2 separate regions of the Homo sapiens genome follow, and region 2 is linked to region 1. Evidence: promoter capture Hi-C in 16 types of primary human blood cells and fetal thymus (Javierre and others, 2016). All regions are on one chromosome and are shown on one strand. Each heading gives the region's core, a stretch centred on a gene start or on the middle of the fragment in contact. The rest is flanking DNA. Distances are from core to core; before and after follow the strand shown. Region 1 holds the start of DESI1 (desumoylating isopeptidase 1). Region 2 holds the start of XPNPEP3 (X-prolyl aminopeptidase 3).

Region 1 (6,587 bases), core at 2,183-4,682:
AAGTAATGACTACTAGCTTTGCTAATTCTTTCTTCATTAATTTTGCAAAAGGTATAAAAGCAATATGGAAAAAAGAGGTAGAGAAGACAGAAGTAGATTAGCACACAAGGTGATTTCCTCAGATCAGAATCTGATGTGCCCAATGAATGGGTGATGTTCCCATGTTTGGCTGAGGCATTCCAGGACTTTACATCTATATAAAAGGGCGGGGAGTGGGAAGGGGGCAGGTCTATTACTCCATCTTCAGTTACAGCACTTTCCCCTTCACCCACTACACTCCACAAAAGCCTTCTTTCAGTTCCAGTATCAGGCCAGACTCTTTCCTGTCTCAGGGCTTTGGCAGGTTGATCTTTCTCCTACCTGGAACACTGTTACTCCCTTACTACCCTCCTGTGGCTACTTCTTCCTCATCCTAAATTCCCACTTTCAAAGTCACTACCCTTGATACCCTTATTTAAAATAGGTCTCTTCACTGGGTGCAGTGGCTCATGCCTGTAATCCTAGCACTTTGGGAGGCTGAGGCGGGCGGATCACTTGAGGTCAGGAGTTCAAGACCAGCCTGGCAAACATGGTGAAACCCTGTCTCTACTAAAAATATAAAAATCAGCCAGGTGTGGTGGCATGCGCCTGTAATCCCAGCTACTCTGGAGGCTGAGGCAGGAGAATCACTTGAACCTGGGAGGCAGAGGTTGCAGTGAGCTGAGATCACCCCACTGCACTCCAGCCTGGGCAACAGAGCAAGACTCGTCTAAAAAAAAAAAAAAGGTCTCTCTTGTTATTTTCTATCACAGCACCCAGTGTGCTTCCTGTGCAGAAGGCACTTATGCAATTTGTAACTAATTATTTATGTATTTATTTTTAATGTCTCCCCCATTAGATAGCTCCATGATGGCAAAGAACATCTTTGTTCATTATATCAACCTCATTTACCTTAACACGTTGACTAGCATAGAGCAGACGCTCAATAAACATCTGCTGAATGAATGAAATAATGACTCCTAAGGCTCCTTTCAGCTGCCCAATAATTATTAGGTAATAGGATAAAAAATACCCAGTGTAAAGGGGGAGGTTTTACGTGGGGTATAGGAAATATCTGATTCCTCACTATGATAAAAAAACAAACAACTAAATGGCTCCATTCCAAGAAGTTTAGTTAAAACTTGACTGATGTGGGCTGGGCATGGTGGCTGACGCCTGTAATCCCAGCACGTTGGGAGGCCAAGGCAGGCGGATCACAAGGTGAGGAGATCGAGACCATCCTGGCTAACACAGTGAAACCCCGTCTATACTAAAAATACAAAAAATTAGCCGGCTGTGGTGGCGGGCGCCTGTAGTCCCAGCTACTCGGGAGGCTGAGGCAGGAGAATGGCGTGAACCCGGGAGGCGGAGCTTGCAGTGAGCCTAGATCGTGCCACTGCACTCCAGCATGGGTGACAGAGCGAGACTCCGTCTCAAAAAAAAAAACCAACAAAAAAAAAACACTTGACTGATGTAATCTATTAATGAGTAACAGCTTCCTCAGTGACTTTGTAAGTTTTGCTTTCAGATGTGCCTCAATCATTTTAACAACTGGTTATCTAGGCCCAAATCCCTGTCAAATAATGGGTTGGCTACATAAGAATTAGCTGATAAGCTCATTAAAAATACAGATTTTTGGACCAAAACTCCAGGAGATTCTGATTTAGTATTTGTGAAGCCTTAGAATCCATATAATTAAAATTTTCTCATTTTAAATAGATATTATGTGTATGTAATACACAGGTCCAGAGGTAAGAAACAGTTTACAGCAAAGTTTCTCTTCTACCCCTGTTCCCCTGGCATCAAGTTCCCCTTTCCATAAGCTACTGCTGTTATCAATTTCTTGTGTATCCTTACGGATAATTATTTGCCTAAGCAAGCACATATATATCCTTTGATTTGCATATTTAAAGAGCTATTCTAACCTTGTTTTTTCTAATCTCATTTACAATATATGTTGGAAATGAGGGTATCTGCATTTTTAACAAGCACCCTAGATGATTTTGATGTGAAGCCAAATATAGAAACAACTCATGGACCCACGGTTGTGAGATTAAGTTCAATTCACTACGACATATTAGAAACTCAAGGACATTGAAGGATGCCCTCAAAAGTAGCCTCCCTTACTTGATCTCTGCCCCCTCGTCTCACAGAGATGAACTAAATCATTCGCCAGTGTCTCCACAGAAGCCAGGAAAAACTAGCCATTCAAATGGATGCTGTCAAAGCTTCAATTTTCAATAATTGGAATTCTTTCCTGCTCATTGTTACCCGAAATTACAAACCTGACAATTCCTGTGTTACACAAGACATTCCTGTATTTAAGTTGAAATAAGGTGTGATCGTCACTGAATGAGGGCTGGTTTTTCTCCTGCCAGTTAAGTAGTTTAATGGAGCACAACCGAAATACTTTCTTTACTAATCCTTATTCACACAGCCTCATCCAAACTTCCCCCAAAACTGCTTTCTTGCCATTTGAGCAAAAGCAATTAACTTAGAAACTGTGGGGAGAAGACTGCTTGGTGAATTCTGGAGTTCGGGGCTCCTCTTATCCTGACTTGACCTACCTGGGGGCGATGGCTGGGTCCCTAGGCAGCTCTATCTCCCCCATCCCACCTATCCCTGGGACTGCAAAGGGAGCTTCCTTTTGGCACTGAGACAAGGTTCTCCGAGAGCCACCCGACCTCCGCAGTGTCTCTGTCACCACGAGGGGCACCGCGCGGCAGGCATCCTCACCTTTCCTACACCGCGCCAAGGAGGCAGGAGTGCACTGGGCTACCCGAGCGAGGCAGAGAACCCGCCGGGATCCAGCGCTGGTTTACCCCACACCCTCGTCGAAGGGGCTCTCGAGGGCTCGGTTTCTGCCCAAGCCCCCTGCAAGGTGGAGGCATGACTCCTCCATCCCTTCCCCTTGAATTCAAACGTGAGGATGGTATCTGCGAGGCTAAAGCGGGGCTCAGATGGCCCAAACTTCAGACCACTCTCTTCTCCACTCGGCTTTTCTTCCATCCTCCTGGCCATGTGTCTCCCCGTGAGTCGTGGCCCAAGTCTCCCCACCTCGGCCAGCCGCCACCCTCTGGCCTGGCTCCCGCCCTCCTGCCCACCTGGCCCCTTCCCCCTCACCCAGCATGATGGGGCTGAGCCGCCGGGCCAGGCCTTTGGACAGGTCGTACACGTAGAGCTTCACCGGATAGAGATTCGGCGGCTCCATTGGGACCCGTGGCGACGGCGGCCACGACGGCCCTCGGGCACCCGGCAGCGGCTTGGACCTTCCCGTACCCGACGGGAGTGCGAAGCGGAGGGAGAGGGGGGGACCGAGCCCGGGCCCGGGCTGAGGGGTGGGGGAGAGGCCGCCCTGCGCTGCTCGCGCCCCCACACCCGCTACCGGCAACGACTACTGTGAGGTGACAGAGAGGGGACAGGGAGGGCCCACACGGAAGAGGGGGCGGGGGCAGGGATGCACTTTTGCGCATGTGCTTACAGTCCTGACGTAGGAAGGGGCGGGGCTTTGCCGAAGGGGGCGGGGCTCTCGCTGATGGGTTGGCTTTCGTCAGGGACATAGGTAGAAGCTGGTTGGGGAGTGTGCGTGCCAGCCTGACGCGATATAGTGCGCACATGCGTGATGACGTAGAGGGCGTTGATTGGGACCGAGTACAGGGCCCGCGCATGCGTGGATTGTCGTCTTCTGTCCAAGTTGGTCGCTTCCCTGCGCCAAAGGTAAGCGGGCCGTTATCCATTTGTGTTGTTCGCCAGCTAGGCCTGGCCTCGTCCCGCTTCGCTCGGTCGGTCTCGCGCGCCCCCATAGCCTTGCTAGAGGGTTAGCGTTAGCCTTAAGTGTGCGAATCCGAGGAGCAGCGACAGACTCGAGACCACGCTCCTTCCTCGGGAAGGAGGCGGCACCTCGCGTTTGAGGCCCGCCTGCGTTTGAGGCCCGCCTGCGCTTGCGGCCCGCCTGCGCTTGAGGCCTGTCTGCGTTTGAGATCTCATTGGGCGTGATTGAGGAATTTGGGGAGGTTTTTGGGCGGTATTGAGGACGAGGGGGTCCGTTAGTCAGCATAGAATCCTGGAGCGGGAATCCCTCACCGTCTAAATGGCGTCGGGGGCGGGACCTCCGGGATCTGGCTTCCGCGGGCCGCCGCCGGCCCTGAAACGTGAGGGATAGCTGAGATGAGGCAGCTACTGGGATGGCCCCCATGCGCATTTACATGCAGTCCGACTGCCGAGCTTTCGAGGCAGCAGGATTTACCGTCCACATTCCTCACTACTAACCAAGCTTTTAGAACAGATCTCACAAGAACCTAGAGGTCGGTATTTTTTCGATTTAAATTTGCCTGTTACTGACGTTAACGTCTTTCGCCTAGTGAGCAGTAGCCAACATGTCAGGGTGGGAGTCATATTACAAAACCGAGGGCGATGAAGAAGCAGAGGAAGAACAAGAAGAGAACCTTGAAGCAAGTGGTAAGTGACTTCAGCATGTAGTGCCATTCGGTGTGTGGAAGAAAGACCTTCCCTGCCTATCTCTGCTGGATGGACTTTGCTGTTTGATGGCCTGCCCTTCTCCTCCCAGATAATTCTGAAATTCTTTTCTTCCTTTGAACTTCGCAGAGCTACCCTAGGCTCTTATATGCAGATCTTACTCTAGTGTGCCCTAAGTTTTTTTTGGACACTGGTAGTTTGACATCTTTTGGTCCCTGATAAATGGCCATGACCATAGGTATTTTTTGTCATCTTAAGTGGTTCAGGTGAGACCCTTCTCATCCAGGAAAGTAGTGTTACCATTCCAGGACCTCAGTGTAAAAATGCCCCCACCCTGCAATAACTACACCAACCAAAGAATAAACGCAAGCAACACAGTTACAGGAAAGTGATTGATTCCCTCACTATAGCCTCCACGTTTGGGAGTGTATGTGCAGGCAACACAGTAACACATAAAACAAAGGAAGAGAAATAGGGGTACATGTAATCTTCATACTGGTTAATTTAACTCCTGAGCAGAAAAATTTTGAATATTTTTATTAAAAATGAGAAACGGCCAGGCGCGGTGTCTCAAGCCTGTAATCCCAGCACTTTGGGAGGCCGAGGCGGGCGGATCACGATGTCAGGAGATCAAGACCATCCTGGTTAACACGGTGAAACCCCGTCTGTACTAAAAAAAAAATACAAAAAATTAGCCGGGCGTGGTGGCGGTCGCCTGTAGTCCCAGCTGCTCGGGAGGCTGAGGCAGGAGAATGGTGCGAACCTGGGAGGTGGAGCTTGCAGTGAGCCGAGATGGCGCCACTGCATTCCAGCCTGGGTGACAGAATGAGACTCTCTCAGGAAAAAAAAAAAAGTGAGAAACATAGGAAATACAAAAAAGAAAAAAATTTGCTATAATCTACCACTCTAACACAACCACTACCAGCATTTTGACATTTTTGTATTTTTCTTTCAAGTATCTTTCAATATTTATTTCCTAATGAAATATATATATTTTTTAATTTTTTAATAGAGACAGGCTGGAGTGCAGTGGTGAGATCATCGTAGCTCACTGTAACCTCAAACTCCCGGGCTCAAGTGATCCTCCTGCTTCAGCTACCTCAGTAGCTGGGACTACAAGTGCCGCCAACTCCCAATAATTTCTTAATTTTTTGTAGAGACAGGATCTTGCTATGTTGATCAGGCTGGTCTCAAACTCTTGGCCTCAAGCGATACCCCCAAGCCTTGGCCTCCCAAAGTTCTAGGTTTATAGTCATGAGCCTCCATGCCCAGACTGTATCTGATTTCTTTTTCTTTTTTTTTGGAGACAGTCTTGCTCTGTCGCCCAGGCTGGAGTGCAGTGGCGCGATCTTGGCTCACTGCAAGCTCCGCCTCCCGGGTTCATGCCATTCTCCTGCCTCAGCCTCCCGAGTAGCTGGGACCATAGGCGCCCACCACCACGCCCGGCCAGTTTTTTGTATTTTTAGTAGAGACGGGGTTTCACTGTGTTAGCCAGGATGGTCTTGATCTCCTGACCTTGTGATCCGCCCTACTCAGCATCCCAAAGTGCTGGGATTACAAGTGTGAGCCACTGCGCCTGGCCTATCTGATTTCTTGTATTGTAACGATAGTGCATATACATTTATTTATTTATTGAGACAGAGTCTTGCTCTGTCGCCCAGGCTGGAGTGCACTGACTCAATCTCGGTTCACTGCAACCTCCGCCACCCCAGTTCAGGCTATTCTCCCATCTCAGCCTCCCAAGCAGCTGGGATGACAGGCGTGTGCGCCACCACACTCGGCTAATTTTTGTATTTTTAGTAGAGGCAGTGTTTCACCATGTTGGCCAGGCTGGTCTTGAACTCCTGGCCTTAGGTGATTCACCCACCTCGGCCTCCCAAAGTGCTGGAATTACAGGTGTGAGCCACTGTGCGTGGCCTATAGCTCATTTTAAATATACCATAATTTGGCCGGGTGTGGTGGCTCACACTTGTAATCTCAATAAATATACTGTAATTTGTCTGGGTGTGGTGGCTCACGCCTGTAATCCCAACACTTTGGGAGGCTGAGGCGGGCAGATCACTTGAGGTCAGGAGTTCGAGACCACCCTGGCC
Region 2 (6,587 bases), core at 3,587-6,086, 760 kb before region 1:
TTTCTGAGCTAGAAATTGTTGCAAAAAAAATAAAAACTTTAAAAAAAAAAGAGGATTTACTCATAAGCTAGATTTAGTTTCTCCCATCCCAAATTCTAGTTAACTAATGGAAGAAAACACCAACTCATAGGTACGAAATTTCAATTAATGCTTCCAAGGCTTAGAACAAGCTACTTTCTGGCCAAAAACTGCCACTTAGACTTTGGCACTACAGGCTTTTTTATGTTACACAATCAAGTAGGACCAGTGTAGAGACTTTTCTCACATAGGACCACATAAAACTTCATTCACATTTCTCTTAATTTGATAACCTTCTAATCTGCTTTGTGCTATGGTTATTTGTACACATGTACAAAAAATTGGTTGCTACACTCTAAATTCTATATTGAGGGTAGAAATGCATTCTGTTCATTTCCTTTACAACATTTAGGAAAAGCCATGTGCCACGTACTGTACTAGGGAGTAGAAAACAAAGACACTCTCTTCGATCTTAATTACCATCAAGTAAAGCCATGAAACCACATACAAGATACTAAATTGTTAAACGGGAGAAAATAGAGTGGGAGAATGCTTCTGTCTCTAAAAAGGGAAAAACAAAAATATCTCAAAACACAGTTCTTGAAAAGAACAGTCTCCTGGATCCTCACTGACAACTAGTTCAGAAAGACTTTTAGTATTTCTCTTTGTGCAATTTAAAAGGTTAAACTAATAAATCCTTATATCAAATAAAACTAAGCTATAAACAATGCTAGCAATTATAGCAAATAGGCAGATGTACTGTTCTTCAACAGCTAAGCCTGTGAGAAACACATGTTTTCAACTTGAGTAACCCTAACAGTAGCATCAGGCCTAGGAAGACGTCTGGACCTAGAAGTCTCCACATTCAGCCCCATCTGCCACAATCTCGAACTGCAGACTGATGAAGGCAGAGAGAGAAACTGACACAAACGCAAAGGCCTCAGAGTTTATAAAAATCTTAGTTTAAATACAGAAATAAAGAGAAAAAGCTTCTATATTAAATATCTCAATTTAAGTTCAGAATAAAGTCCCTACATATGCCATGATGCTTCACCCCATACTTCAGCCAACTCAGGATGGCTAAAGAATGTAAGTGGAATCAGAAAGAAAAACTGGAATTACCTATGTTAAAATAAGGTATATGACTATTTCTTGTTTTTGTTTGGGAGATAGTAGTGCCTGACAAATATTTTGCAAACCTTAAAGTGGAATTCTCTACATAGGCACAATCACTCCAGCACAAGTCAGGAGGACACTGTTCTTACACATGCTTTTAATTTGTTCTTCTGTGTCTCCTCTTCCTCACTAGTAAGAATGAAACAAAAACATTGTATCCACTTAATGTAAAGTGGAGCCAGCTCTTGGAGCCGGCTATTTTCTTCCTGTGATACTTGTCTACGTTACCTGGAATTTTAGAAAGAATTTATTAACTGCAGGTTCTTTCCTATAATTAGGATAAAAGCATACAAATATCTTAAGGCTTTTGGATCATCAAGCTGTTCAATAGAGAAAACGACTAAAACCTAGCCCTCAATTCCTAATCCTGACATTTCCCGGTTGAGGAGTTTGCAAAATAGACTTCTTACCAATATTCATAAAGTTACTATTAACATAGTAATATTAAATGGTCTCAGAATTTCACATATAAGTAAGTCTTCCAGTAGTTAGACAATTGGTGGGGAGCTAAAAATTGAAAAACTTCTTAGAGGAAAAAAATACAACATACAACGCTGACAGATTGTAACGAGTTTTTTCCTTAGAACCAGATTGTTGTTAAGAAATATTCTTTGAGCTATTTGGTAATCATGAGCTCATCTTCCCACACAAAAATATCACGCTGGGTGAAGTGGCTCACGCCTGTAATACCACCACTTTGGGAGGCGGGGGAGTCCCTTGAGGCCAGGAGTTCAAGACAAGCCTGGGCAACTTAATGGGACCCCCATCTCTACAAAAAAATTAAATTAGCCAAGTATGGTGGCTCGATCCCGCACTGCTAGCCACCTGGGAGACTGATGCAGGAGGATCGCTTGTGCCCAGGAATTGGAGGCTGCAGTGATCCCGCCACTGTATGCGGCCTGGACAATACAGCCAAACCCTGTCTCTAAAAGACAAAAGTCACTAAACACATAACGTTCACAGCAGCACCTCTTAGGAGTCGCAATGGTCTGCATAGTTGCTATTTATCCCTGTTTAGTGCAATTTGTATGTCATCTTTTCAGTTCCCCATTAGTAATAATTTTTTAAAAAGTCATCTTAGGGAAGACTTCCCTGTCACTTTTTCTCTTCGGTGCTCCTTCAACACATAAAATGCTAATTACTATTATATAGTAAATATCAAAACGAACTTTTCTATTTATTCGTCTAAATAGACAGTACTTATACTGTTTCCTAGCACCAGGCACAATGCCTTGTCAATTAACTCCTTGCACGTAGCGAAGTACTCTACAGTTAAAGACAACAAGATTATATCCTGGAAACATGCCAGGCCTTAAGAAATTATTTTTCTCAGACGTGTTTGGAGTGATAACACTGCCAAGTAACGGAGGTATAATAAGTGATTCTCAAGATAATTAATCCTACGCAGCTACAAACGCTGTAAGGTAAAAACAATCATTTTTACAGTTATCATTTTTATTCTTACTAGTTTTGTAACTTTTAACTTACTAGTGTTATATTATTATAACACGACGTAAAGGAATAGTGCGTAAAGGAACTGCTATGTACCAATGAGACCTGAGCAGGGCACACAAGACTGAAAGAAAAACAACCCCACGCAAAATCTAAGTCTTGCAGTTTTCACTCCTCGCGTCTCCAGTGTCCACGCATCCGCAGTCCTGTTTTTGTATTTCGCCCAAGATACACCCCTGGGCAACCTCAGGGTGCGAGGAACCCAGCTCTGCCTCCTGCTCCCCGCGGCTCCTGTACTACCCAAGGCTCGCGATCTTCCATGACCCCTCGAAGTTGCCTCCCTTTCCCGGGCAAAGAAGGGGCAGCGACCCCGCCTCGCCCGCCGGACCGAGCCAGGTCCAGCCTGGCTCCCCCCTGGGGCCGTGCTTCCCCCGCCCCCAACGGTCCTCAGGCCTGGGTCTCACCTCTCCACCCACTCCCTCAGGAAGCGCATTTCCTCGGTGTGCAGAACGCTCGGATCCTGCTTACACATTTTCACAAAGGCCCGAAGCTCGTTCACTTTGCGGGGGTCCATGGTAGGGAGGTGGTGGGCGAAACTGGGGGGGCTACGGCCCGGTTCCAGGCCCAGGCGCTGGCTCGGCGTGACCGCGCAGAAGGGGGCGGCTGCCGCAAGACAGAACAGACTAGAACCTCCCCGGCCGCTGGCTCCTCCCACCCAACGGTCTCGTGACCTCGGGTCCTCCGCCTGCTCATTCCTACTCCCTCTGCGCTGCTCCTGCGCGCTCCCTAGAATCTTCTAGAAGCGTGGCTGTTCGTGCTGTTGCCTGCCTCCCTGCGCATACATTCTCATATTCTTAACTAGGAACCAGCTCCCTGGATGGGGCAACCCCAGAAATGGGCGACTTCAAGGAGGCGGGAGATAACATCCCCTCCAGGGGGCGACGTCCAAGAGCATATTGTGTGGCTGCGTGCACTGAGTAGAGCTCAACGCCCGGGACCTAAAAAAAAAAAAAAAAAAGGGCGTGGAGCCGGAGGGTCGGTCCCAGCTCGGGGCATGACGTCACAACCTGCGCCGCCGCGCAAGGAAGGCCCGCGAGCCGCCTCCGCCGGAAGGGGAGGTGCGGCTGGCCCGGTTTCCTGGCGACGCGGCCCTGCAGGCGGTTGCGTTCCCCGTCGTTACCCTCTTTCTCTTCCCGACGCGTGAGTTAGGCCGTAATGCCTTGGCTGCTCTCAGCCCCCAAGCTGGTTCCCGCTGTAGCAAACGTCCGCGGCCTCTCAGGTTAGACTCTTCTCCCACGGTCTCCTCCCATGGTGTCCCCTGGAGGGACCCAAGTTGGTCTCAGGCGATCCCTGGTTCGGCTGACCCTTCTCCTGGTGGGGCCTCCGCTCCCCAACCCTCTGTGCTCCGCGGATTTCTTCTATACCGGCTGCTCCTGGAAAGGGGTGGGCCCAGTGTGTTCTCTACCGTTGAGGTATTTTGTGAAGCCGAAATGACTGCAGAGAGAAAAGTGTGCCATCCCCCAGAGGGGCTGTCTTCCAAGTTACTCGGACTCCGAAGTTGTGGCAATTATCACACTTAAGTGACAAAGTGTCTCACATCAAGTAGCTCTTGTTTCTGTTAGGCGTGAGAGCTTGCTCCAGAATATACACGAAGCATGTTTAGTAACAAATTCTTTCAGCAGCTCCTCTTAGGAGAGGTAACTGTTTCGAAATACTTCTGGGGCGTTCTGTGTCTGAAAGTCCTGTTTGCAAAGACAAGACGAAGGATAAGGAGAATAATTTTTTGTAGGGTGTCCTCTATTGCGAGCAATTAATCTGATGAACATAAAGCTTAATCAGTGAAAACTGAATCACCTTCCTTGCAGGCGGATCTGCCATTGGATCGTATTTCAGTTTTTTGGGTCAATATATGAACAATGTGTGAACCAGAACGTATGGTATTTGACATCAAAGCTATGTCTTGGCATATGTTTATGTTGATATACTTGAATTCATTTAAAATGGAATGTTAATTACATCGACTTCTTACTATAAAAAATAAAAAGTTATTGTCCAGTGCACAGAACTTGTTCTTCAGTTCTCATAGTAAAGCTGCAGAAAGACAACTCTCCGTGGGATTAGGTGAAAAGAAAGATGTGCAATTTTTCAGTCTTTTTTTGAGACAGGCTCTCATTCTGTTGCTCAGACTGGAGTGCAGTGGCAATCTCTGCTCATTTGCAACCTCTGCCTCCTGAGTTCAAGCAATTCTCGTGCCTCAGCCTCCCGAGGTAGCTGGGATTATAGGCGTGTGCCACCACGCCTGGCTAATTTTTGTAATTGTAGTAGAAACCAGGTTTTGCCACGTTGGCCAAGCTGATCTCGAACTCCTGGCCTCAAGCGATCCACCCTCCTCTCTGAGCCACCGCCCCAGGCCTGGAATTTGCTTTTATTTGAAAGGCTCTCCCCAGCCTGACTAAAGGAGCCATACTACCAGAAGGAACACTTGCAAAGGCACAGAACTCTAAAACGGAGTGGCCAGCACTAAGCGTTGCAATCGTTTAGTATGGCTGGAGAAGCTTTTTTTTTTTTTTTTTTTTTTTTGAGACAGAGTCTTGCTCTTGTCGCCCAGGCTGGAGTGCAGTGGCGCGATCTCTTGCCTTACTGCAACCTCCACCTCCCGAGTTCAAGCGATTCTCCTGTCTCAGCCTCCCGAGTAGCTGGGATTACAGGCGCCCGCCACCACGCCTGGCTAATTTATGTGTTTTTAGTAGAGATGGGGTTTCACCATCTTGGCCAGGCTGGTTTTGAACCCCTGACCTCGTGATCCACCCGCCTCGGCCTCCCAAAGTGCTGGGATTACAGGCGTGAGCCACCGCGCCCGGCTTAGGAAAAGATTTTTTGAAAGATGTTCTCAAACAAAATAGTAGGCATTACACGAAAATGATTCTGTGATCAAATACTTTTGGGGAATGCTGCCTTTCATAATGTACATAATAGTTTAATTCTTTTTTTGGAGATGGGGTCTTGCCATGTTGCCCAAAGTAAACTTGAACTCTCACCTCAGCTTCTCAAAGTGTTGCGATTATAAGTGTGAGCCACTGCACCCAGCCCTTAATAGTCTAGGTTTCTGAGAGATGTGTTCCGCAGTAATTTGCAAAATGTGTAAAAATGTATTTGACCATGGACCCCTTTTCTGTGATGAATCTTGAACTGGTATCCCTGGAACAGATTTTGGGAGAAGTTGGGCTAGAGCATAAGATGAGTACAAGGAGCTGATAGGAAATCAAGTTGGGAAAAAAGCTGGTGGCTGGCTCGTGGAGGGCCTTGTATATTATGTTAAGCAAACAATTAGCTTTTTCCTTTAGATGGTGGGAAAACTTTGAGGAATTTTAAGCTATTGAGTAAGATGATTAAATCTAAATTTTTGGTTTTCTGTTAAGAGTGAAGAAATGGACTACAGGGCATGTCATTACATTCTTAAATTTTCTGAGACACTGATTTTTGCTTTAGTTTTTGGAAAATTGCAATTTTTTTTTCAACTTTACTACCACATGCATGATAACAGATAAACTCTACTAAATATCACATCTTATATTAGAAGCATTTAAAATACCCTGGGCTTTTATTATTTTATTTTCTGAAAATAAACTTTGAATACTAATTGTCCGCAGTCTCTTCTATAGAATAAATAACCTTTCCTTCTCCCATCTGCCCACTAAAAATCAAATACCGATACAAAACACAAGCTCTTGACTATAGCTGTCTTTTAAAAATAGCAGATATTATAATTTTTTTCTAATTTCGCATTTGTATTTGGCCAAAGTTGAATAAGTTTTAGTGCTGCTAGATGTAACTCAAACCATTTGCTCGATATCTGATGTATTTGTAACCCATCTATTTTTCTCCCAACATGACTAAATTAAAATGGCTATAGGTGCTATTTTAGAGTAATGTATTTGTAG

What was found. The method cuts DNA at HindIII sites, captures the fragments that hold promoters and counts their contacts. A CHiCAGO score of 5 or more calls a contact.
Region 2: a fragment that was not itself captured here is called in contact with the fragment with the promoter of DESI1 in region 1 in 1 of 17 cell types (non-activated CD4 T cells); the score reaches 5.9 in non-activated CD4 T cells.

The regions. Positions count from the first base shown.
Region 1 is chr22:41,617,611-41,624,197 of GRCh38, forward strand. DESI1 (desumoylating isopeptidase 1) reads right to left here and starts at 3,433. Exons shown (of 6, transcript NM_015704.3): 1 at 3,142-3,433. The coding sequence starts at 3,229. XRCC6 (X-ray repair cross complementing 6) reads left to right here and starts at 3,685. Exons shown (of 13, transcript NM_001469.5): 1 at 3,685-3,735; 2 at 4,380-4,476. The coding sequence starts at 4,395. RefSeq lists enhancers at 1,439-1,508, 1,519-1,578, 2,851-3,452 and a silencer at 3,184-3,453. The HindIII fragment of the contact is 2,045 bases long and covers 2,245-4,289 here.
Region 2 is chr22:40,853,321-40,859,907 of GRCh38, forward strand. It overlaps XPNPEP3 (X-prolyl aminopeptidase 3), which reads left to right and starts at 3,828. Exons shown (of 10, transcript NM_022098.4): 1 at 3,828-3,925. The coding sequence starts at 3,862. It overlaps ST13 (ST13 Hsp70 interacting protein), which reads right to left and starts at 3,319. Exons shown (of 12, transcript NM_003932.5): 1 at 3,111-3,319. The coding sequence starts at 3,220. It overlaps DNAJB7 (DnaJ heat shock protein family (Hsp40) member B7), which reads right to left. Exons shown (of 1, transcript NM_145174.2): 1 at 6,229-6,587. RefSeq lists enhancers at 3,047-3,816, 3,444-3,663, 3,674-4,133. The HindIII fragment of the contact is 725 bases long and covers 4,475-5,199 here.